Regions from separate parts of the Homo sapiens genome. Here all the other regions are linked to region 2. Evidence: promoter capture Hi-C in 16 types of primary human blood cells and fetal thymus (Javierre and others, 2016). All regions are on one chromosome and are shown on one strand. Each heading gives the region's core, a stretch centred on a gene start or on the middle of the fragment in contact. The rest is flanking DNA. Distances are from core to core; before and after follow the strand shown.

Region 1 (3,176 bases), core at 65-2,564, 420 kb before region 2:
AATGCAAATAATTTCAAGTCCCTCCGGGTTGGAGGAAAAGATGAAGGAGGGGAGTAAATATAGGTACTTCTTATCCACTAAGAAGGCCAATCAAGACAACTGGTTTTGTCCTGGCCTCTAGTCCAATCACCCTGGACAAATCATCTCCATTTGTTTTGATGATCCAAAAGTACAGATGCTCTTCTACTTTGTGAGGTAAATGTGTGCAGCTCAACACTAGGATAATGAGGCAATAATATTTATTATTTAAATACTATGAACAGTTTTAAATTTATTTTCTGTTAAAGCCGATTTTTCCTCCTTTTTCAGAAAATGCCATTGACTTGGTGCCTAGGTATTGGTATCACTCATCTCCCTTAACTTTGGTCCACCTGACCGCCCAGTTCAGGAATTCCAGGGTTGGCTTTAGTGTGGCTAGATGGACGGGCCCCTGGGAGCCTGTTATGTGGCTGATGCTGGCGGATAGATATTTTCTGGGTGGAGGACCTACTTTCACATCACTTCAGAGAAGTAACTTTGCCCACTGATACAGCTGGCCCTACAACTAGGTAGAGGGGGTGATAAATAGTGGAAGGTAGAGGGTCTTGGCAGTGTGGAGGGGCGTACTTTCTTCCCAAGTCCACAGTGGCAGGGAAAAAGCCATGTTTCTCTGGGACATGGAAGTGACTTAACCCCTCACAAGAGGCCTTGAGCAGCTCTGTCTGGCACAATCAGCACACACTAGACCCTGCTTCCTCCGTTGACTTATGCTCTTTGCTTTAGGAAGGGTTTTATCCTTTTCTCTAAAGTCCTGTCTGGCCAGTTCCGCACTCTGGAATCAAAACACCCTTCTCTTTCCCCTTGCCTTGGAGGTACCGCCCAACACCCTATCTCCATGGTAATTTCTTGTTGCCACTTATTTTTCTCCAGACACACATTTCTTGACCTACAGTTCCAAGTGTGCTTTGCTGTACTGGGGGGCTTTCTAGAGAACGATGTGCAATCAGCTAACCCTGGCACTCAGGCCTGGGGGTTTGGGCTCTAGCCCCCTCCCTGGCCTCATCTTCTTTCCTCCCCTTGGTGCACCCACCCTCCGAACACCAGCTCCTTCAGTGTGCTCCCCTGCTGCCTCCTGCTCCCAGGCCTCTCTGGTGCCATCCCTGCTGCACGGGGCACCCTGTGTCCATGCTCTGGCCACCCTGAAGTCCTGATGAAACACTCCTTCTTCTTGAAAGCCTTTCTAATTCTAACTGGGCAGGGCTGCTTCCTTGTTCTGGAACTCTTCACTCATGTTTCTTTGATGGAATATATCTAATGTTGTCTGCATCAAAGCTATTACAATTATTTGGGTACATATCAAATCTTCCTCTTAAATTCTGATGCCCTGTATGTCACTGAGTATGAATGCTGTTAATACGTTGTAGGTTTAAAGACATTTATTCAACTGACACTTGTCTTTAGTAGCCAGCCCATCTCTTCTTTGGGTGGTGTCTCTAGCCGAGAATGGCACCTCAGTCTCCAGACTGCCCAGGGTTCTCCCCTCACCGCACAGCCATTTAATCACCAAATAGATCGGGCAGTCCATTTAATGCAAAGATTCTCTGACATGTGTGTCCAGATGTTCAGACGGAAGCAGAGATTCCAGCTGCCACTCCCCAGCCCTTTCTCTATCACTGTTTAGGACCTGTGATGTCCCACAGCACAGAGCTGGGACCACTGCTTTCAGGTGTGATCCTATCTTTTTAAAATTTTTAATCAGCGAATTTTAAGAAACATAGAACTTGTAAGCCCCAGAAGACAGAACCTCTAATGATGACATTTCAGCCCTGCGCCAGATAGGGGTAGAAGGGATACTTTTGTGAATGAGAAAACATTCAGATTCTCAAAAATCCACACTCTGTGAGTTATTATTTGCTTTACCTACTCATGGTGGTTAAGAAAGCAGCAACAGGTAATACCTTCAGATTCATAAAGTCACAGGCAGTCTGGTTCATTTAAACTTGACATGTAGAATGGATTAGAAACCACTTTGATCTGGTCAGCCTGAGGCCACATGGTTGTATATTAAATCTTTTGTCTCAAGGACCAAGGGCATTTTTTTTTTCCGTTGAGAAAAGTACAGTCCACTCAGAGGTGCTAAAATAAATCCCACATTTTTTTTTCATTATTTTCTGGAATAGTGTTTGAATGATGGGCAAACCCTCAAGTGGAGAATTTGCTTTCACACACGTAGCAGCTTCAACTGCTGAGATCATGTTGTTCAGCACCCATTCTAATCCACATGGAAAGGGGCACGGGGGTGTTGTGGGTGGGGAGGGGTGGTGCAGCTCTGGGCCCCAGGGGTCTTGGGAGTGATCCATTTCTGGATGTCTGCATTGTGTGGGGTCCCGTCATTCACTCTGTCACTTGCTCTGACTTGAGTTCGCTCTCCAGATCGATTTCATTTTCTGCCACCATGGTGAAGATCAAAGAGGGATCAAGAGATACAGAGGAAGGAAGCAGAGAGAGGAAGAGAAAGAGAGAGAGATTAGCAAGCAAAGCAGAAACAGTTTATGCAGGAAATACAGAAATTACTCCACCAGAATTGATTAAGAATGCATAGTTTAGGTACAGCCAGTGTGAAGAACAGTTTGGGATTGTGGAATTTGTATCGTTCTGAGAATTTGCAGAGTCATACATCCTGGCTCATGAGGATTATAAAATTCTGCCCCTGGAGGGAGCTTTGCCTGCATCTGGTCCAAACCCTCACTTGACAGCATTTAGAGTAGAACAGGGCTTGTCCCGGGGTCACCACAGCAAGGTGGAGGCAGGGCCAGAACAATGACCCATAATTCCCAGCTTCTTTTCTAGTGCACGTTTCTTTACCACAGAGTGCACCCCTCTTGTCTGGAAGCAGAGATTCCAGCTGCCACTCCCCAGCCCTTTCTCTATCACTGTTTAGGACCTGTGATATCCCATGGCACAGAGCTGGGGCCACTGCTTTCAGGTGTGATATCTATCTTTTTAAAATTTTTAATCAGCGAATTTTAAGAAACATAGAACTTGTAAGCCCCAGAAGCCTGGGGACTCTCGACTCCTCAGTCCTGTCCTTGCCTCTCCCCTAGGACCTAGCACAGTGCCTCGTACAGAGAGATGCTCAATAAATACCTACAGAGTGAGCAAAGATGCTGGGTATGACTGAATGGGAATTCTAATAG
Region 2 (3,064 bases), core at 83-2,582:
AAGCTAACAGGATGTGAAAGTCTTCCAGAAGAAATTCTTGCAGCCAGCTTTGCGTTCTCGGGGTGCCATAGCCGGGTTTGAGTTAGCAGATCTCTGCAGCTCAAGCCTCATTTCATCCTGCTCAGCAGCCTGGGACAGATCTTCAGGTTCCAGGGCATCATTCTCCGTCTGGTTGGGTTCAGACAGCAGCTCTGCCAAGAAGTACTTGGCCAGTTCCTGTATAGGGCAGAAGGGATAGAAAAAGAGAGAAAGAGAAGTGGGGAGGACAATGGAAAAAATTTGAAAAGCCTAAATTAAAGAACAGATTTGGTCACACACAAAATCCAGTTTTTACAGCTGCGCATTTTTTGTCACATTTAAAATCAATCAAGGATATAAAAATAAGGATAGTTGCTATAATTACCAAGTTACACAAAAAGGCTTTAAGAGCTCAAATGTTTCTGCAACCTTTCTGTCCCTGTAGACTTAACACACACACACACACACACACACGCACAAACACACACACACACACACACACACACATAAAGACCGTTCTGGTAAGATAAAGTGTGTGCCAACAGTTTAATTCAATTTTCACATCACGAGCTACAAAGTAGAATTGTTTTACCATTTTTACCAAGTAAACTGTAGGGGAACGAGACTTCTCACAATCTCAAACATACGGCGTTCGGTCTTTAGATTGCCCCTTTGCCCTAGTCCCGACGTTTGGAAGTGAGGTACGCTAAGAGGTAGCAGCTTCAGAGGTCTGCGTTTCAGCACCTGGGTCAGCGCTTCCCAGGGTCAGCACCAGGGATAGACGCCATTGTCGCTTCGTGCCCAGACAACTACCCAGATTTTGTAATTTTCTTGAATGCCAAGTAAGAACTCACCTGAACTGTGACCGACTGCGCTTATCATGGGGGAAAAAAAGAGTTAGAAGGGGATTCTAGCCTTTGATAGTTTTCTCAAGAGCTTCGGGAGCTGAGGGACCCAGAAAAGCACCAAAACTCTTTAGAAGGACTGAGCATCCCTTACGTCCAAACCAATGGGGCAGGAGCAAGGCTTAGGGAGGGCTGGAGAATCCGGGAGACGTCGAGGGAGTCTCCTTACCTGCTTCCCCGCGGCAGCAGCCAGGGACTTCTGCAGAAACTGACGGAGTCTGGGGTCCGAGGGAGCGCCGGTGACACAGCCCAGGGCCAGGACGATGGACAGCGCAGCCAGCGCGCACTGGAGGCGGCAGGACAGCATCTCGGCGCCGCGAAAGCCGAGCTGGAGAGTGGCTGGTCAAACTCTAGGCGCGGATCAGCAGGCAGCAGCGATGGCTCCGAACCTCGCTCCTAAAGCGGCTTGTGTGCTCTCAACCGTCTCCCTCTGTTTTAAACTCTCTCTCTGACGTCAGGCTAGGAGGCGCCCCCAGATCTCACCAGCCCTTTTACGCACCATTAGCCTCGCAAAATCAATCACAGAAGACAGGGGAGGTGACAAGATCTAAAGTGGCTTACTTAAAAAAAAAAAAATACTGCACACGCACAGGCACACACAATTCCACATGCCCCACGATTTATACAATCTTTTATTTTCACTCAGTGCTATGAGCATACACATTCCACAATTTCACTCCCACACATGCACACTCAATTACACACAAACAGAGGCTCAAACACTCAGCTCTTAAAGAGCAAATACACTATCACCCTTAAATGCACACAAATGTACCCAGACAACTCCATCTGTCATCATACTCTAACATTTTAGGAAGGCCCAACAAGCAACAGGGCATGTGTATGGTAGGTGGAGATCAGAATCATTCCTCTAATAACAGATTTGAGAATGAAATATGGACAGTAGAAGGACTGAGCCCTCTTTATTTCCTCCATTATCTCATAAAAAGCCTTGAAGATGTAACGGGGCTCTAAAAGAACTTCACTTTTCTCTACAATGGGGGAGAAGGTACCTCTGGCTCACCCTCCCTCCCTCTTTCTCAGCAACTGAGACTTCTGATCTACCTGCCTTTCTATTGTGACCATATATATGTATGAGTGTGTGTATATGTACGGGAGGGAAAGAGAGAGAGAGAGATTGAAATGGACTTCATTTTGGTGCTGAGAAATTTAGAGCTGGAAGGCAATCTAAGAAATTATTCAATAAACCTCAGAATTTGAATCAGTAAGGCAGAGTAATGGTCAGTAAATTGTTCTCCTTCACATACTGCACACTTTGAGCAAAACCAGACCTCCACATTCCAAAGCCAGTGTTCCTTCTACTGAGCTCTGAGTTTTCTAACAGATTCCTGGCCGGTAAGCATAGTTTTATGTCAGGAAGCCCCAGTTTAGACATATAAGGTCTAGGAACTCCCAGAACATATGTGACCACTATTGTATATCTATATGTGGAAAGGATCAAAAGATTCTTGGTTAAATTCAGCTCTGCCTGATCTCCTAGAAACAAAGAAAGTTTAAGAAAACCTGTCCTTGAATTCTGATTGAACTCTGGTTAAATGTTTACTGTTCAGGCCAGAGTTCTGACTGCTTTTATCTAAATAGTTCCTTACTGAGGAAGGACCAGCTAATTTCCTAGCATGGACGAGATGATCCCTACAGGATCTTTAAGAGCTGTTATCTTATGAGCTTCAAAAAAGCCAATATTAGCTAAAAAGATATGCTGCATCTCTGGAAACCATGCGAAGCTCATATTAGGTATTAAAATATTCTCAGTACTTAGACCCGAACCACAGTGTTGAGAGGCAGAAGGGTTTGGGAAGTATCCTGAATGGCTTGAATAATTGTCACTATTTCTTTTTGTGCTTGTAATCCAAGGCAAAGCGGAAATGCACAGCAAGAAGTGTTAAAGTTTCCAGGTCTTGACAAGGCCAGCCAAGACTAAGCACAAAGTGGGGCATTAAAAAGTCATTCACATGTGTTGGAGTAGTCTAAGAGATCAATGAATCTGGAGCTGTGGAACCCAGTCCTAGGAAATACATGTTATATTCTCTAAATCTTGCAACTCTCTCTGGCCTCTAAGGACTCAGAGTTTAGTTCTATCACTGTGACTGTCTCTAGGTACCTCCAAATGATCTCATATC
Region 3 (3,230 bases), core at 647-3,146, 460 kb before region 2:
CCTGGATCCCTTCTAGCCATGCTAATCTCTTTAGCAAATGGCCTCTGGGCTACATCCTTGCTTTTTCACTTTTTACATGGCCAGGCTGATAAATTTTCAAATCTTTCCACTCTGCTTCCCTTTTAATTATAAATTCTTCCAATTATTTTTTTTGTTCCTCAGCCTCAGTGTAAGCTGCCAAAAGTAACCATGCAGCTGCTTGTTTTGCTTAGAAATTTATTCTGCCAGATACCTTAGCTCATCACTTCCAAGTTTGGCCTTCCACAGAGTTCTTGAGTGTGGACACAGTTCAGCCAAGTTCTTTGCAAATTTATAACAAAGATGGCTTTTATTCCAGTTTCAAATACTTTGTTCCTCAGTTCTATTTGAAACCTCATCAGAATGGCCTTTACTGTTCATATTTCCATCAGCACTCTGGTCATGACCACTTAACCAGTCTCTAAAGAGTTTCAAACTTTCCCTAGTCTTTTTGTCTTCTAAGCCTTCATCAGAATCTAGGCATTTCCTAGACTGCTCCTCCAAATTCTTTCAGCCTCTGCCCATTACCTGATTCTAAAGCCAATTCCACATTTTCAGGTATTCATTACAAGCAGCACCCCACTCCTTGGTAGCAATTTTCTCTCTTAGTCTGTTTTCTGTTGCTTCTAACAGGATACCTAAAACTCCATTCATCCATTGAAAAACATTTGAATTGTTTCCACCTTTTGCCTATTGTGAATAATGCTTCCACAAACATTAGTGGGCAATGATTCATCTGTTTGAATTCTTGCTTTCAATTCTTTAGGTAATTTTGTAGTTGTTCAAGATGGGGCATTTGGAGTATAGCCACCTCTTCCAGTCTTTGCAGACTGGCTTTGTGCCAGAGAAGCCCTTCACTAATTAGCTGGGCGTGCCCTGTACCTAGGGATCAGCCAGAGGTGAAAGCTTAAAGTCTTTTCAGTTCTTTTATGAGCATGCATCTTGACTGGGCCTATGGCTTTTTCAATTTCCCAGTATACAGGCCTGCTTTTGAATGTCTTCATTTCCCAGAGTCTCACTCCAGCTTCTCCTCTGGGTCTTAGATGATCTATTGTGTAGCTCCACCTGTAATGTCTCGCCACAGGTGTCTGTGGAGCTTTTTAAAGCAGACTCCCATGCCTGCGACCCTAGGTTAAAGAGGGAGATTAGCCCTCCAGGCAGCCCCACAAAGATGTTAAAACATTGCAAATAAGGTCTGATCTGCTCCTTCTGTTCTAAAGGAGGATATTGGGCATGGGCTGCTGCATCTCCCTGTGCCACACCAGGGAAAGTGTGGGTCAAGGGTGAGTAAAAACACCATGAATTTCCTGATGTTTTGAATGTGGCTTTTTCTTGACTGAGCCTTCACTTCTTTGCTGTGGACCTTTTACCATTTTCCAACACTCCTATAAAGTTAATTTCATTGAGTTTCTGGTTGTTTTAATGTTTCTATGAGGGGAACATGGGTTTGGATCTGCCTCGTCTGCCATTTCACTGCAACACACTCAACTGTTCTCCCTGTTCTTGTCTTCCTACAACCCGGCCTCCACGCAGGGCCATAATGATACCTCACACATGCTGTTCCATCTGTTCCTCTTTTCTCTTTGCCAGGCTAATTCCAACTCATTCCGTTTCCAGCCTACACTCTTTCCTCTTCATTTTATCCATTCAAGAATAGAATAGATGCTCCTGCTAAGAACAAGTATATTTCCCTCTGCTTTCCATTTCATAGGGTCTCCTTCCAACTGCAAGACTTTATGATTCTCAAAGTCTACTTAGGGAAGCAAGTATTTACAGAGTCATGGGATGTTAGAGTTGGAAGAACCATTAGAGGCTCAATCACTTCATTTCAAAAATGACAAAATGTGGTGAGAGTGTGGGAGTAACTAACCCCGGGGCCTACTGTCAGGTGATGGTAGAGCAAAGCATCCAAGTCTCACCTAGTTTTAGTCCAGAACTGTTTCCCAAGACTCTTCCTGATCTGCTAGGAAGATGTTTCAATCTAAGGAGGCCTCACCTGCCTCTCTTACTGCCTCTTATACTTGCTGCAGATGGGGAATTCTGGGTTTGCTCATGGGCTTTGCTTCTGTCTTGGCAAAGATTTCTCTGTGATAGTTCTTTCTTTGCACACATTGCCACATGCCACATAATGAACTTGTTAGATGTATCTTATGTGTTATAAATAAACTCCTCAGGGAAATTCCTGGATCCTGGGCCTCTCCCACTGGAGCTTTTGTTTGCTTGTCTTGATGTTCAAGCCAGGAAGAGAACTACAAGCACTGAATTATAGTTCCAGAGGCTGAAATTCTTGGTGTAGGGTTGAGAAAAATTGTTATCTCTATTGCTTTCCTCATGCCCATCTTGACAGAGGACCAGCTCAATGGGAGGATTCCTTCTGGGGTTCAGGAGCCCTGAGAACTGAGAGGACTGCCAAGGAAGGAATATGTCCGACATAGTAAGTCCATAGACTATCAGAGCTATAAGACAAATTAGAGATGCTTTGAGCTAGGGCCCTTATTTTGCAGATGAGAAATTGAAGCCCAGAGAAATTAGGAAACTTGACTAGCATTGTATATCATGGGGTAAGAGAAGATCATGAAATTTGGGGTCAGAAAACACTTGAGTGCTGGTTCTGCTACTTACCAGCTCTGTAACCTCAAGCAAGCCTCATTTTCCTCCTCATCAAAATGGAAATAATCCTATCTGCCTTGGAGGGCTATTGCCAGGAATAAAGAATACTCTGTCTACGATAATGCCTGCTATAGGGCACATGCTCACTGAATGCTCATGCTCTTCTTTCATCCTCTTTCCCTTCTAATTTGCAGCTTCCTCTTTGAGTCCTGAAAGGCTCTTCCTTCTCTATGATTTCAGTTAAGCTTGGTTGGTAAATACTTAAAAAAAAAAAAAAAAAGGCAAGGGTTAATTTTGCAGCTTTGAAATGGTTTATTTATTAACTGTAGAGTTATTTATTTTCTTCCCTCATATTTATTTCAAAGCAATGATTTCATTTTTCCAGAAGCACGATGGTCACTCTTCATTCTTCAAAGATAGCTGTTTAAAAACATCTCTTTAAACAGAAAACACCAGTAATTTTCTGGGCTCCCTTCCCATTGGCTGGAATACTCCAGAGGAATTTAGTTCTTTTCCAAGTCCCATTCTGGTTCTCTGTGGGACTCCTAGCTAAGGAATTTCCTTTGGAGTCATTTTTGGCATTGCTTGGGTACTGCCACATG
Region 4 (3,068 bases), core at 90-2,589, 410 kb before region 2:
AGGAAGGGGCCACCCAAGAGTAGGCTAGTCAGCCTGAGAAACCCAAAGAAAGGAGGTTAAGGATTCTTGAGAAAAGACGCATTACAAGTTAATTCAATGTGGACATCTGATCAGTTTCATTCGTCTTATTTAGTTCCATTAGAAGTAGCTTGATATTTGTTGTTGCTGTCAATAACCAAGCAGCTTATTTATTAAAAATAACTCAATATGAAAGTTTTAAAAAGTTAGATAACCTCGCAGACAGATTCTCTGCACAACAGGAACTTACCACATTTCCAAAGAATGGAAACTGTATACACAATATAAGTCATTCATTGAGTATCCAGTGTGTGCCTACTGCCGAGCAAAGCATGAGATGGAGGTGATGAGAGATAGACACAGTGCTGTGCACACAATAGCAGTGTTGAGATTGAGGAACACAGACACAGGCAGGTATTACACAGTGTGACAAATGCTTTCACACAAGCAGAAGCACTGCATATGCACTCAAAGCAGGCAAACAATCCACATTAGAATATAAGCTACAGGAGAGAAGGACTTTATTTTCTTTATAGATGTGTCTTCAGTGCATGGAACAGGACCTGGCACATAATAGTTATCCAATAAACATTTGTTTACAAGAACTGAAAGTACAAGCCCCATTCTGTGAACAGTGAGTAGCCAGGGAGTCTGTGGGGATTGTAGGAGGAGATGTACTTGGAAGGATACATGGAAAGAAAATTATGGTTGACCTTGAATGCCATTAATTCTGTGAGTAAGTGGAAGACACTGAAAACTTTTAAGCAGGAAAGTCATGTAATGAAAACTAATGTTTAATAGGCAGTCTTAATACAGAAACTATTTATTGGAATCACCCAAAAATAGTTTGAGTGTGTATCTCTGTGTGTACATGTTTGTGTTAAGACTTAGATGCAAAAAACATGCCTGTTTGCTAAAAGAATTCCCTTCTTTGGAAGAGCCAGAGGCCCTGTGCGAATTCAGAGATCCAAGCAGAGATCCTAAACTGGTGGCTTAAAGCTGATTTTATGTGAGACAGGAGTTTGGGAAGCTTCGTATGATAGCTAGTTGGTATATTTATTTGAGTATAAATTCTTGACGTATCTATTCGATTATCTTATACCTAATCCAATTCTTTTAAGTTGTATTTGTGTTTGCAACCTCTGGACCAAATTTTAGCCAAGATGCATGAAAAAAATCTCTTACCAAGAATGATTCCTGCTGCCTTTCAAAGTCATTAGAGAAAAGTTCTCAAAGGCGGCTATCTCTAGTAGCTTCTAATGAATTCATTGTTTTGTTCGTTAGCTTAGCATGTCAGAAATATCTTGACATTTGACACTCCTGTTTTGAAACTAATGGTTTATTTATTTAAAATAAGTGGGAGTTTCAAAGAAAAACAATTTGCCCTGGCAACAAAACGCAAGTACAATTAATCACTAACTTTGGGAATTGAAGTGTAAACAGAAGATGAGATCATGGCTTTGCTATTTATTCCTCTTCTCTGCAGATACCAGCCGAACTCACACCAGTCTTGTTACTATAGAATGTGCCTATCTGCACACAGCTGAAATGTCACTTCCTTGAACCTCCCAGCTGCTGTGTTATTTTATCTGACTCAGTTTTCCAGATAGCCAAAGCTTTACCTAACTATAACTAAAAATTTTCTTTTTGGTGTAACACTTAAAAAAAAAAAAGTACTTTAAAGAAGTACCCACTTTCTCAAGTGAAACATGCTAACCCTTTCTTGGTGATCCAGGGACATTGTTATGAATGTCAACCATTGTGATACTATATTAAAGTGATAATCTTGGGGATATTGAGTTGTGTAATGTCGCTTGACCTGGCGTTAAACATTGCCGGACTATAAAGCCTTGAACTTCTGAAGTCTTCTTTATGTCATGTTTTATTTCCTGTCTTTTTATCAGCCTATTCACTGTACTTTTCTGTCTGCTTATTTTTAATATGTTGTGAATTAGAAACCAGTTAACTGCTTTTGCTAGAACTTAATAAAAAAAAGCTAAATAGATTTAGAATGAGGGCCTGGGAAAGGGATTCTTCTGTGAGTAACTGCATGAACTAGAGTACACCATCTTGGTGACCTCTGCTTTGGAGTAATACGATATACAGGAACCTGGCAGTTGGAGGTCCTGGGTCCTGTTCCTGACACTGCCGTATTCTGCATTTTGGGCCATCTCCTTTCTAGCTCTCAGTTATCCACTTGTAAAAACAGGGGTTTGGACTAGCTGAGCTCTAGATTCCTTTCCAATTCCAGACATAGCAGTCATCATAGTCTAACACAGTTCTAACAAATCATCATAGTCATATATTATATAAACCAACCAGAAGATGGTAAGCAGGAGTTTTAACATATGCAGGATTACTGCTTGCGGATGAACTTGAATTTGTTAATAATGAATAGTCATGCCTTGGGCATTAATAGTTCCAGCTACACAGGCTTCTTTCTGGAACTTGGTATCCCCAGTGCCTCTTGGGTTCTGCAGTGACTGGGACATGAACATTTTCAAGTGAACACACTGGTCATTTGGATTAGGGAGATACTACTGAGGGTCTGTGATAAATGACCTCCCTCCTTGTAACGTCTGGGCTGAAGGACCTTTTCATAATGGCAGATAAATCAGATAAATGGTTATCACCTGCAGAGCCACAGTATTCCAGAGAACAGGAAGCATGCCCCAGCTGAGGCCCATGGGAAAATTTGAGCCATACATCCTTTTAGAAGCAGAGAAGAGAAGGCCAGTAGCCTGGGGCCCTGGGAATTCAGCCTGCAGCTCAGAATAGAGTCCTGGAATATCAGAGCTGGGCGGGACCTTTAAGAGCTATTTCTATCTGCCTCCTTCTATAGGAAACAGAGGTCAAGAGAGGGGAAGTGACTTGCTCAAGGCTGGAGAGATAACATGAACATTTTCTGATATCAGTTTTGCTTTGGGAACTATTCTGAGATGAGAGAAAAGAACCCACCAACCCAGAGAGTACATGACTAAAGACACAGACACTTGGCCAAACAATTTTCCTGGCTCAAAGGCCTCTTGAAACCTTATCTTGGGTGCATG
Region 5 (2,927 bases), core at 61-2,560, 480 kb before region 2:
TGTTAAGTGCTTTCTATTGCAAGGCACAGAGAGTCAAGGTTTTGAAAGTGAGATGGTGGCACTCAGTAAAGAAGAGCTTCTTAATAGCCAGGGGTTAGAGAGTGCTGCTATCACTGGATAACGAGCTCCACATCACTGGAAATGTTCACATTCAGGCTAGGTAACTGCTTGGCTCTCAATAGGCATTGGTTATTACTTCAATTTCAGAGGCAACCCTAATCCCAGATCACTGGGTCTGTCTAAAGATAGACAGTGAAGTCTCCTCATTCTATATGAAGAACCATCTTCTCACTAAATTAAAATCTGATTATTTTATACCTATTTATGTCTTCATATGAAATGTCTCAGAGTCACTGGCACATCTGATTAGGATTAGACTAGATAATTTCCAAGATCCCTTTTACTCCATAATTCTGTTCTATACATCTTTGTATTTTCAGGTCATATGGTAGAGACTCAGCCAAAGTGACTGAATGCAAATGTGATTCAGGTTTATTCTGTGGCCACTGTGAAATACACATCTGCTGTCCAGAGCGGTTTCCTCTCATTTGCAAAAGAGAGGACCAAGTTTTCTTGTTTTATTGCTTTTCTTGGAAAGATCATGCTCAGAAGGAGGGCAAGTGTGCATCAGAATGGATTTTTTTCTACTCCTTCCTCCACTTTCTTTCTTTCTTTTTACCCTAGTGAGTAGAGGTCTTTGATATAATAGAATAAAGGGACATAAACTTTGTTAGCATAGTAAGAAATGACAGCTATGCAATGGAATGTGGTCAGTATTAGTGGGAGAAAGGTTATTAGCTTATAGATACTCTACACCGAAGGTTGAAGCAAGGTCCTGAAGAGAAAGTAGAAGAGCAGAAGAGATCAAAGAGAAGACCTAGAAAGGAGACCAGAAAAAATAAGGGGAAGTTCTGGACATGCATTCTAGGTGGACTCTCAGTGGACCTATTGGAGATTTGATGGAAGAGTAAAGGAAAGTTGTGTCCTGTCTTCTGAACTCCATGAGTATGCCATTCAACCACAGTAAGACGGTCTGATAATGTACAGTGACTTCATTTCCTACTAGACCTTCCATGAAATGTTATTAGGGTTGAACGGTTGCATATCTTTCCAAAACTGCTTCAGGAAGAATCTCTTGGGGGTACAGTCTGAAGATACGTTCCCATAATAGTGGCTGCTTGGCAACAGGAACATGCTTAAGGGTCAGTCTTCATGTCCTAAGCCAAAGGCTCTGGGTTAGTGTGGGTCACCTGGCTATTGATGTTCACTGGACATGAAATGAGTGAGACTAATTTATCTCTATATCCCATGTGTCCAGTATAGAGCCTGGCACATGGTAGTTGATAATTCAGAGTGTTTTAAAAAACAAATAAATGAATAACATTGTTGCTTCCCCACATGTAATGTTGCCTTGCCCCTTCTTCAGAATAAGGGGAAGGAAGCTGTCTTTTATTTTAGATCAAATATCCTGAAAATAGGGAAATTAGTTTTTGAGGACTTGATAATTTCTCTCAAGTATGCCCTTCTTCACTTCCTGGACCATGGCACTGTTCCCTTGGTAATATCCATAGAACATTTTCTGATGAATGCTCTTCTCAAAGACAAGATCTTGCACTTGAAAAAAAAAAAAAAAGCAGAGAGACTGGGCAGTAGTGCATGCCTGTAGTCTTAGAACTTTGGGAGGCTGAGGTGGGAAGATCACGTGAGCCCAGGAGTTTGAGACCAGCCGAGGCAACACAGTGAGACCCTACCTCTACAAAAAAAAAAAAAAAAAAAAAAAAAAAAAAAAAAAATTAAAAAATCAGCTGATCATGATGGTGCATGCCTGTAGTTCCAGTTATTTGGGAGGCTGATGTGGGTGGATCACTTGAGCCCAGGAGATCGAGGCTGCAGTGAACCATGATTGAACCACTGCACTCCAGTCTGAGTGACAGAGTGAGACCCTGTCTCAAAAAACAAACATAGAAAAAACAAAACACATAGACTGGGCACAGTGATGTGTGCCTATAATTCCAGCTACTCAGGAGGCTGAAAAGGAGGATTGCTTGAGCCTGAGAGCTCAAGAGTAACTTGGGCAACATAGACAGAACCCATCTCTGAAAAAAAAAAACACAGAGTTTTATGGGGATAAAACTTCAAGAGAATGAAGACTGGGGGACTTTGGATTTTGGGCTGTATATCTCTGAAGGGCCCTCGCTGATGGTAGGCACATATGCCTCACAAAATTGAGCAAGAGCTTGGAAAAGAAGTTCAATGGTTGCTGTTGGGGTGGAGGGGAAGCAAAGGAAGAGGTTCTTATAAATCATGACTGGGCATGCAGAGGTGGGTGGTACTGGCAGGCTGGGTACCTGTAATGCTTTCCTTTGCTTTGACCCAAAGGGAGCAGCCCTACTGTTCCTATCTGGCTATGTTTTGGGATTGGACTTGCTGGATTAGTTTACTCTTTGGCTACTTTGCCTTTTTGATCCTTAGTTTGCTTTTTTTTTTTTTTTTTTTTGCAAAATAATGTCAACCTCTACCTACATCATAGAATTGGACATCGTGTTCTCAAGGCACTAAGCTCTTTGAAGGATGAAGAAAAATAATCAGGTACTGTGGTAGAAAGTCTCCAAAGATGGCTGCCACCAATTCCTTCCCTTCCTATAGGCACAGGCAATTTCCCCATCAAGAGTTGAAGTTTATTTCCCATTCCCCTATATCGGGCTGGCCCTGTGATTGCTTTCATCAACAGAATATGACAGGAGTGATGTTATGGGACTTCTGACTCTAGCCTTAAGGAGGACTGGAAGCTTCCATTTATTCTTCCTAGAATGAATCTTCTTGGAAACAAACTACCATGTAGTGAAGAAGCCTGAGCAGCTAAAAGGAAAGACCCAAGTGGAGAAATACCATAATGGTGAATAAGGCATTATGAAAGTTCACAAATG
Region 6 (3,264 bases), core at 747-3,246, 390 kb before region 2:
AAGATGAGATGCGTCCCCAGAGGGCCCCTGCAGCCTGACATTCTGTGAGTTCTCAGCTCTAGGAGGGCAACTCACTGGGTGTGTGTAGGCAGGGGCACAGGGTGGTTTCCACATGAGCACCAGTAGTCAGCCAACTAGCATGCAGCATCCTGCAGAGGGGAGGCCTGCTGGTGCCCCACGGCTGTTGGAACCTCTGCAGAAGGCTAATGCTGACATTAGGGTGGCCTTCTGGAAGAGAGTCAGCTGTGCAAGCACAAGTGGAGAAGTCTATCTCACCTCCCGCCGCCACCATGTTAATCTCTTCTTTGAAAGGAACTGGAAAATTGTCCCAACTCACAGATGCAAGGACTGTAGGGCACTTCAGGTAGGCAGCTCAGTCCCTAAGTTGCCTCAAGTAGACTACTTCTCTGTTATGCCCAGAGGTCATCTGTCTAATTTTGGAGCAGAGAGGGTGCTGTAAAATAATATTCTTCTCCACTCCATGTCATTTGGGGAGTTAGTGACAGATCTGAGACCAGAAAAGGCATTTCCTGAATTCCATGTAAGGGCCCAGGACCATGCTGCCCCTTCCAGAGGGCCCATGTCCATCTACTTGTGGTTTCAGGAAGGAGTCTCACCACTCTAGATAGAAACCATCAACCAATTTCCAAAATATTCTCTAGCCAAGAAAGTCAAGCTTTGGATAGAAATCTATTCCAGTGTCTTTAATTCAGTGTTAGAAGAGGTCTTCAGATTATATTATTGCTCTTGAAAAGTATCATCATTTTTTCCCATTAACAAAATGCTGCTTTATGTCAGCTGCTTCATCTGCCTTCCTTGGATACTCCACTTATTTGGAGCAAAGAAATGAGCTAAATCCTCTCTTGTGTGTTTATCATCTTGATGAAGGAGACCTAACAAGGTTAAATTTGTCTTCTGTCTGAAAAAGAATCAAACTTAAGAGAAAGAGTTTCTCAATGACTATGAAGTTAAGAGTCAAATCTTAAGGAGGAGAGGGGGCAAATTATGAGAAGAAGTCATCCCTACAACTGAGCAAAAAAATTCTATAATTTCTGTGATCTTGAGCCTCAGGTACCAATAAAAGCTATTGGCACTGACAAAATTTCTAGATGGTTAGCATGTTTGAAAGTAGAGAAAAATGTGGTTAGAAAGTTCATATCTAGCCTTGTCTAAATCCATGGAACTTATTGTCATATTAAACCAGTGTTTGGTAATTTTTCTTCCGGTTAAGACAACTCTCCAACCAAAATACTAAAGAATGCCATGATTTTGTGACCAACATTATTTGGGGGAATGGGCCGGGAGATTCCACTTAGCCTGAGGACCCATACCTACAATCCATCTTATCCTGGAGTTTAACTCTGGATAACCCTTTTATCCTGAAAAGCGTAACTGGCCTTTTTGTCAGAAAGTTCAGTTTAGGATGATACATACTCATGGCCTCAGTGAAGACCCCCCTGGTTGATCCTTGTGACCCTGAGAAATTTGTTCTATTTTTAATGAATTTGTAGAAATCGCATCTAGATTACCAATCCGCGTTGTCTCTTAGAGCAACCAGTTCCACATTTTCTCATTCTTTATCAGTTAGTCTTTATTGCCATCACTGTTTTCTATCTTGTGCAATGGCTATTTTCAAGACTCATCTTTCTTTTTAAGGGACCAGATCTTTTGTGTCCTAAAATTTCCACCGTCCCTAGCACAGGGCATTCTAAGAGGGCATCATCCCATATAGCAGTGGTTCTGGGACATTGAACAACATCTGGACACATTTATGATTGCCATAACTGGTGGGGCCGGGGCTGCTACTGGCACCTAGTTAGGGTAGAAGCTAGGGATGTTGCTAAAAATCCCACAATGCTCAAGACAGCTTTTCTCAGCAAATGATCTGGTTCAAAATATCAGTAGTGCTGAGGTTAAAAATCCCTACCATGGAACACCAATTTTGGAAAATTTTTAGACGCAGAGACCTATTGTAAATGGGACATTGCAGGCAGACCCAACATATACAATGACAATACTCTACATATAAAATAAGCGGAAGCACAGTGCCTTTGTATGCCTCTGCTGTATCTTAGGCTCAGTGGAGAATAGCTTGGGAGTTGTTTGGTGTAGACAAAAGAGCATGTGATTCAAAAACACAAGGCATGGGTTTGAGACCTTAATCCATCACTTACCAGATGTACAACCTTGGGTGAGTTGCTTAACCTTCCTGGGTTACTTCTTTACCTGTGAAATGGGGTCATGGCTCCTGTCTCAAAATTGTTTTAAAGTTTGATTGAGATTATAATTGTAAAAGCACCTTGTAAACTCACTTCTCTGCTGTTGACCAAATATTCTGGTTAATACAAGGTTAATTCATGTTGAATTACTGGCTATGGAATAATGAGTCTACAATAATACTAAAAATATCTAAATGCTCTAGAGTTGTTTGATGAGAACCTCTTTCAGGAAGCTGGAGAGAGCTTAGAAGGTAGGTTCTTAGGTCTCCACGTCTTTTTTAACTAGATATAACTGCAATAAACTTGATCCCTTAGAAATATTCTGACCTTTTTCAGCCTCACTTTAAAAGAAGAACAGCTTCCCACCCATGGAATTTTTTTTTTTGTGGGGGGTTCTCTAAATTCCAGGGTATATTGTTTTGATGTGGTCCTGCTCTTCCCCCATATTTACTTTTTACATCTACTTCTGATGGTGACCGTCCCCTTCCTACCCACACTTTTTGCTGATAAAATGCAAACTACTTGGCATGACATTCAAGGCCCTTAAGAATCTCGCCTCCACTCACCTTCCTACTTCATCTCTGACTCTTTACTACTGTATATCCTGCACTTCCCAAATACTTGATCTTTATTTGGGAAATTGGACAATGCTTTCTAATGCCTCAACTTTGGACATAATTATGGTTCTCTTTCCATGATTACTGCTTACTCTGAGGTCTCTGCCCTTTTCTGCTTGTTGAATTAAAGGTGATCTTGGAACAGAGGCTGGTAGAAACACTAAAGGCTTTGAGAACAGGAAGAAAGAAGGGATGTTGTGTTGGGCTGAGTCATACTCTATCAATCAGCTTCAGTTTCCTTCATGGACCTTTCTAGTTCTACCCATCAGCTTGCACTTAGCTTTCCACCTTGACCTGAATTCATACCATTGTGATGTTGTGTGTCTCTCTTACTATATGCCACCCTGGAAGGGTCTAATTTCATATTGCCTTGTCTAAATCCCAGAAGAGAGCCTGGCCCAGTTAGGGGACATCAGGAGTCTCACCTT
Region 7 (3,214 bases), core at 548-3,047, 340 kb before region 2:
CAGTTAATAAGAATTTCTGGCCTAGAATAGTGGCTTATGCTTGTAATTCCAGCACTCTGGGAAGCCAAGGCAGGAGGACGGCTTGAAATCATAAGTTCAAGACCAGCCTGAGCAACATAGTGAGACCCTGTCTCTACAAAAAACAAAAATAAATTATCCAGGCATGGTGGTATGTGCTTGTAGTCCCAGCTACTTGGGAGGCTGAGGCAGGAGGATCGCTTGAGCCCAGGAGTTCAAAATTGCAGTAAGCCATGATCATGCCATGGCACTCCAGTCTGGGCAACAAAGCAATGCCCTGTCTCTAAGAAAAAAAAAAAAAATCTCTAGAGGTGGGACCCAAGCATCAACAAGTTTTAAAATTCCCCAGGTGAGTCCAATGCAATGTGAAGCTGGGTTTGCTAACCAGAAGAATAGAGAACAGGTCCTTCAAGGGAAAAGGTCTCATTTCAGGTGGGACTAGATGGCAGAGTGATAGTGGGAGGGTCCCTGTACCCTCAGACATTCATTTTGAAATCTCGCGTCTCTCTGAGTTGTGAGAGCTGGTATGGAGGAGCTCCGCAGGCCCTGCCAGAGCTGAGGAACCCCAATTCTGTAAGACCAGTCTCAGAAAAAATAGAATCCACTTACTCTCTTCTAAAATGTTCCACATGGACCCACATGAGTGCGGAGCTCACCTGTTCCTGGTGGTCAGAACTGGTACCCATCCTGCTGCTCTGTTTGTGCAGGTGCAACCAGACATGGGGCCCTTCTCTTTAGGAATTTGTTAGGCATTTGTCCACAGCCATGGGTCAAAAAGCCCAGGAAGATGTTCTCGGTTTACAATAGTGGTCAGGGCCCTTGCTCACAGCTGCTGGTCCCAGGGCCAAGACTTGCCCAGCTTAAAATTCCTTTTCCTCTCCTCCCTGCCTGCTCAGGATCTACTCAGCTTCTCTGGGAAGATATCACTCCTTTCTCTGAACTTCTGGTCTCTTTTTTTAATTGTCTTCCATTATTACTTAAATATTTGCTATCTTGGCTCCTAAGTGGATGTGCCCTTCCTATCTGGCATTTCTTTTGAAATTCCCGGTATTAGTCCATTTTCACACTGCTATGAAGAAATACCCCAGACTGGGTAATTTATAAAGGAAAGAGATTTACTTGACTCACAGTTCCACATGGCCAGGGAGGCCTCAGGATACTTACAATCACAGTGGAAGACGAAGGGGAAGCAAGCATCTTCTTCATAAGGCAGCAGGAGAGAGAAGAGCAAAGGAGAAACTTCCAAACACTTAAGAAGCCATCAGATCTCATGAGAACTCACTAGCTATGATGATAGCAGCATGGGGGAAACTGCCCCCATGATCCAGTCACCTCCCTCCCTTGACATGCAGGGATTACAATTCGAAATGAGATTTGGATGGGGCACAAGCCAAACCATATCACTCCCCCAAACACTTGTTTGGTTCCAATGTCCAGTGTAATGAAGAAGCATTTAAACCTGCCGTCTCTGCATGTGCTCCCACTAGAACCCACCAGTGTGTGTGTCAGTCTCCTGAACCATTCGCTTCTTTTCCTCTTTGCTGATATTTGTATTCCGTCAGACAATTTAGGTACAATTTGTGTTTGACATGATGAAATGCACATGCCTTTACATGGCATGAGCTCTTCCCCATCCAGCACTCATCAGCCTCATGAAACACCACACCCTCTGCCTTCCAGTTAAAATGGATTCTCCAGCCACCTCTCTAAGGCTCTGCACATTTGCTGGGAGAACATGCCACTCAACCTAGTTCTCCATTCATCATCTCTAGAAGCCTTCATGGACTCCCCATTCAGAGCTGAGCTCTCCTATCTCTGTGTTCCCTCACCATTGTGTTCCTCCTTCATGGCGCAGTCATCACGATGGTAATTTCTGTTGTTAAACCACAGGAAACTAGAAAACAGAGGTCAAGTCTCTGTCTTCACGTGTGACTAGCACAGTGCCTAATGAAGATAAATATTTATCAGCTGAATGAATGAATCAATGATTGATTGATTCTTAGATGACTAAAATCATCTAAGACCCCAATTGACAAAGGAAAGCAAAGATCTTGAGCTGGGCTAAAAACCAGAGTTTAACATGAGAATCTGTTAAATGCTTACTCCCATTTACGTCTCTTCAGCCCAAAAGATTCAGATTCAGTAGGACCAAGGCAAGGCCTGGCAAACACATTTTTAAAAGCCTCCCAGTTGAGCCTAATTTATCAGCTCTGGCGACCTGCTGATGACTTGAGGATTCTTCTTTGGGAAAGTCTGTGCTTTTGCCTTTCTCCCAGGGCTCAGGGACAGGAACAATGTGGCAAGAATCACTGGATCTGTTTGGCCCCTCACTCTCTAGGGAGGCTGAAGAGGCCACTTACTTCTCTAGCATTCTAACCCTGCATAAGTAAAACCATTTACAGCCTGACTCCCACGGAGGGCTGTGTCCTAGGCAAGACAGTCCTGTGCCCAAGCAGAATGCAGAGCCACGGAGCCTAGCCTGAGATTTGCATTTTGGCTAACTTCTAAATCCAAGAGGATTTGAGGAAAATAGAGCAACATTTTGCTATTAGGGTCCTGTCATCTCATTACTGCTTGATGTGATTGACAACCCTGGTATGAGCAGTCTGCCTTTCAGCCTCCGTCTTTTTCTAATGAGTATTGACTCAGTGTTTTCCTTTAATTAATATTCATTGCGATAAAAAATGGCACTCATTCACTTTTAATTATACCCTTCTTGCATAAACAGGCTTTTAATAACAGATCTTTTAGGGTGAAAAAACAAGCTCTCTGCTCCCAGCTTTGTCTGATGCCAGGAAAGCAGCCTCTGTTATTGATAAAGGGGATTTCAATTTGTTACTTGGTGCAGTGGAAGGAGCTGTGGGTGGAAAGTTAGCTCTTCTACTTCTAGCTCCAGCTCTGCAAAAGGTATTGGAGGTTCTTGGGCTAACTCCGTTCCCCCTCGCGCCTCAGCCTTTGTATCTGAAAAATGGTGATTGAACCAGATCAGTGGTTCTCATCCATTACTGTATATTGGGATCACCTAGGGAAATTATTTAAAAATACCAAAGACCAGGCCACATTCCAGACCAACTACATGAAAATCACTATGAGTAGGACCAAGGCACCACTATTTTAAAAAAGATTTCCAGATGAAAATTCTTAAATACTGAATACTTCAGGATTGATAACTGCTGATATGGGCATCACTCTCACC

The links. The method cuts DNA at HindIII sites, captures the fragments that hold promoters and counts their contacts. A CHiCAGO score of 5 or more calls a contact.
Region 1: a fragment that was not itself captured here is called in contact with the fragment with the promoter of SST in region 2 in 1 of 17 cell types (M0 macrophages); the score reaches 5.3 in M0 macrophages.
Region 3: a fragment that was not itself captured here is called in contact with the fragment with the promoter of SST in region 2 in 6 of 17 cell types (megakaryocytes, M0 macrophages, M1 macrophages and 3 more); the score reaches 13.2 in megakaryocytes.
Region 4: a fragment that was not itself captured here is called in contact with the fragment with the promoter of SST in region 2 in 6 of 17 cell types (megakaryocytes, endothelial precursors, M2 macrophages and 3 more); the score reaches 8.6 in megakaryocytes.
Region 5: a contact is called between a fragment that was not itself captured here and the fragment with the promoter of SST in region 2, in 4 of 17 cell types (M0 macrophages, M1 macrophages, endothelial precursors and 1 more). The highest score is 8.0, in M0 macrophages.
Region 6: a contact is called between a fragment that was not itself captured here and the fragment with the promoter of SST in region 2, in 6 of 17 cell types (M2 macrophages, M0 macrophages, megakaryocytes and 3 more). The highest score is 7.8, in M2 macrophages.
Region 7: a contact is called between a fragment that was not itself captured here and the fragment with the promoter of SST in region 2, in 16 of 17 cell types (M2 macrophages, M1 macrophages, M0 macrophages and 13 more). The highest score is 14.8, in M2 macrophages.

Annotation. Positions count from the first base shown.
Region 1 is chr3:187,244,960-187,248,135 of GRCh38, forward strand. All of the region lies in intron 8 of MASP1 (MBL associated serine protease 1), which reads right to left. Among named protein-coding and RNA genes, the nearest start is that of MASP1, 45 kb to the right of the region's middle. The HindIII fragment of the contact is 7,784 bases long and covers 1-3,176 here.
Region 2 is chr3:187,669,062-187,672,125 of GRCh38, forward strand. SST (somatostatin) reads right to left here and starts at 1,333. Exons shown (of 2, transcript NM_001048.4): 1 at 1,093-1,333; 2 at 1-216. The coding sequence starts at 1,230. The coding sequence ends at 4. The HindIII fragment of the contact is 4,322 bases long and covers 1-3,064 here.
Region 3 is chr3:187,207,532-187,210,761 of GRCh38, forward strand. LOC101929106 (a long non-coding RNA gene) reads right to left here and starts at 98. Exons shown (of 5, transcript NR_110052.1): 1 at 1-98. The HindIII fragment of the contact is 1,949 bases long and covers 923-2,871 here.
Region 4 is chr3:187,262,797-187,265,864 of GRCh38, forward strand. The region is part of intron 2 of MASP1 (MBL associated serine protease 1); the gene reads right to left. Among named protein-coding and RNA genes, the nearest start is that of MASP1, 27 kb to the right of the region's middle. The HindIII fragment of the contact is 586 bases long and covers 1,047-1,632 here.
Region 5 is chr3:187,189,181-187,192,107 of GRCh38, forward strand. No RefSeq gene overlaps it. Among named protein-coding and RNA genes, the nearest start is that of RTP1, 6.8 kb to the right of the region's middle. The HindIII fragment of the contact is 2,953 bases long and covers 1-2,787 here.
Region 6 is chr3:187,282,564-187,285,827 of GRCh38, forward strand. MASP1 (MBL associated serine protease 1) reads right to left here. Exons shown (of 11, transcript NM_139125.4): 2 at 3,262-3,264. Among named protein-coding and RNA genes, the nearest start is that of MASP1, 7.5 kb to the right of the region's middle. The HindIII fragment of the contact is 2,645 bases long and covers 675-3,264 here.
Region 7 is chr3:187,330,953-187,334,166 of GRCh38, forward strand. No RefSeq gene overlaps it. Among named protein-coding and RNA genes, the nearest start is that of RTP4, 36 kb to the right of the region's middle. The HindIII fragment of the contact is 4,956 bases long and covers 1-3,214 here.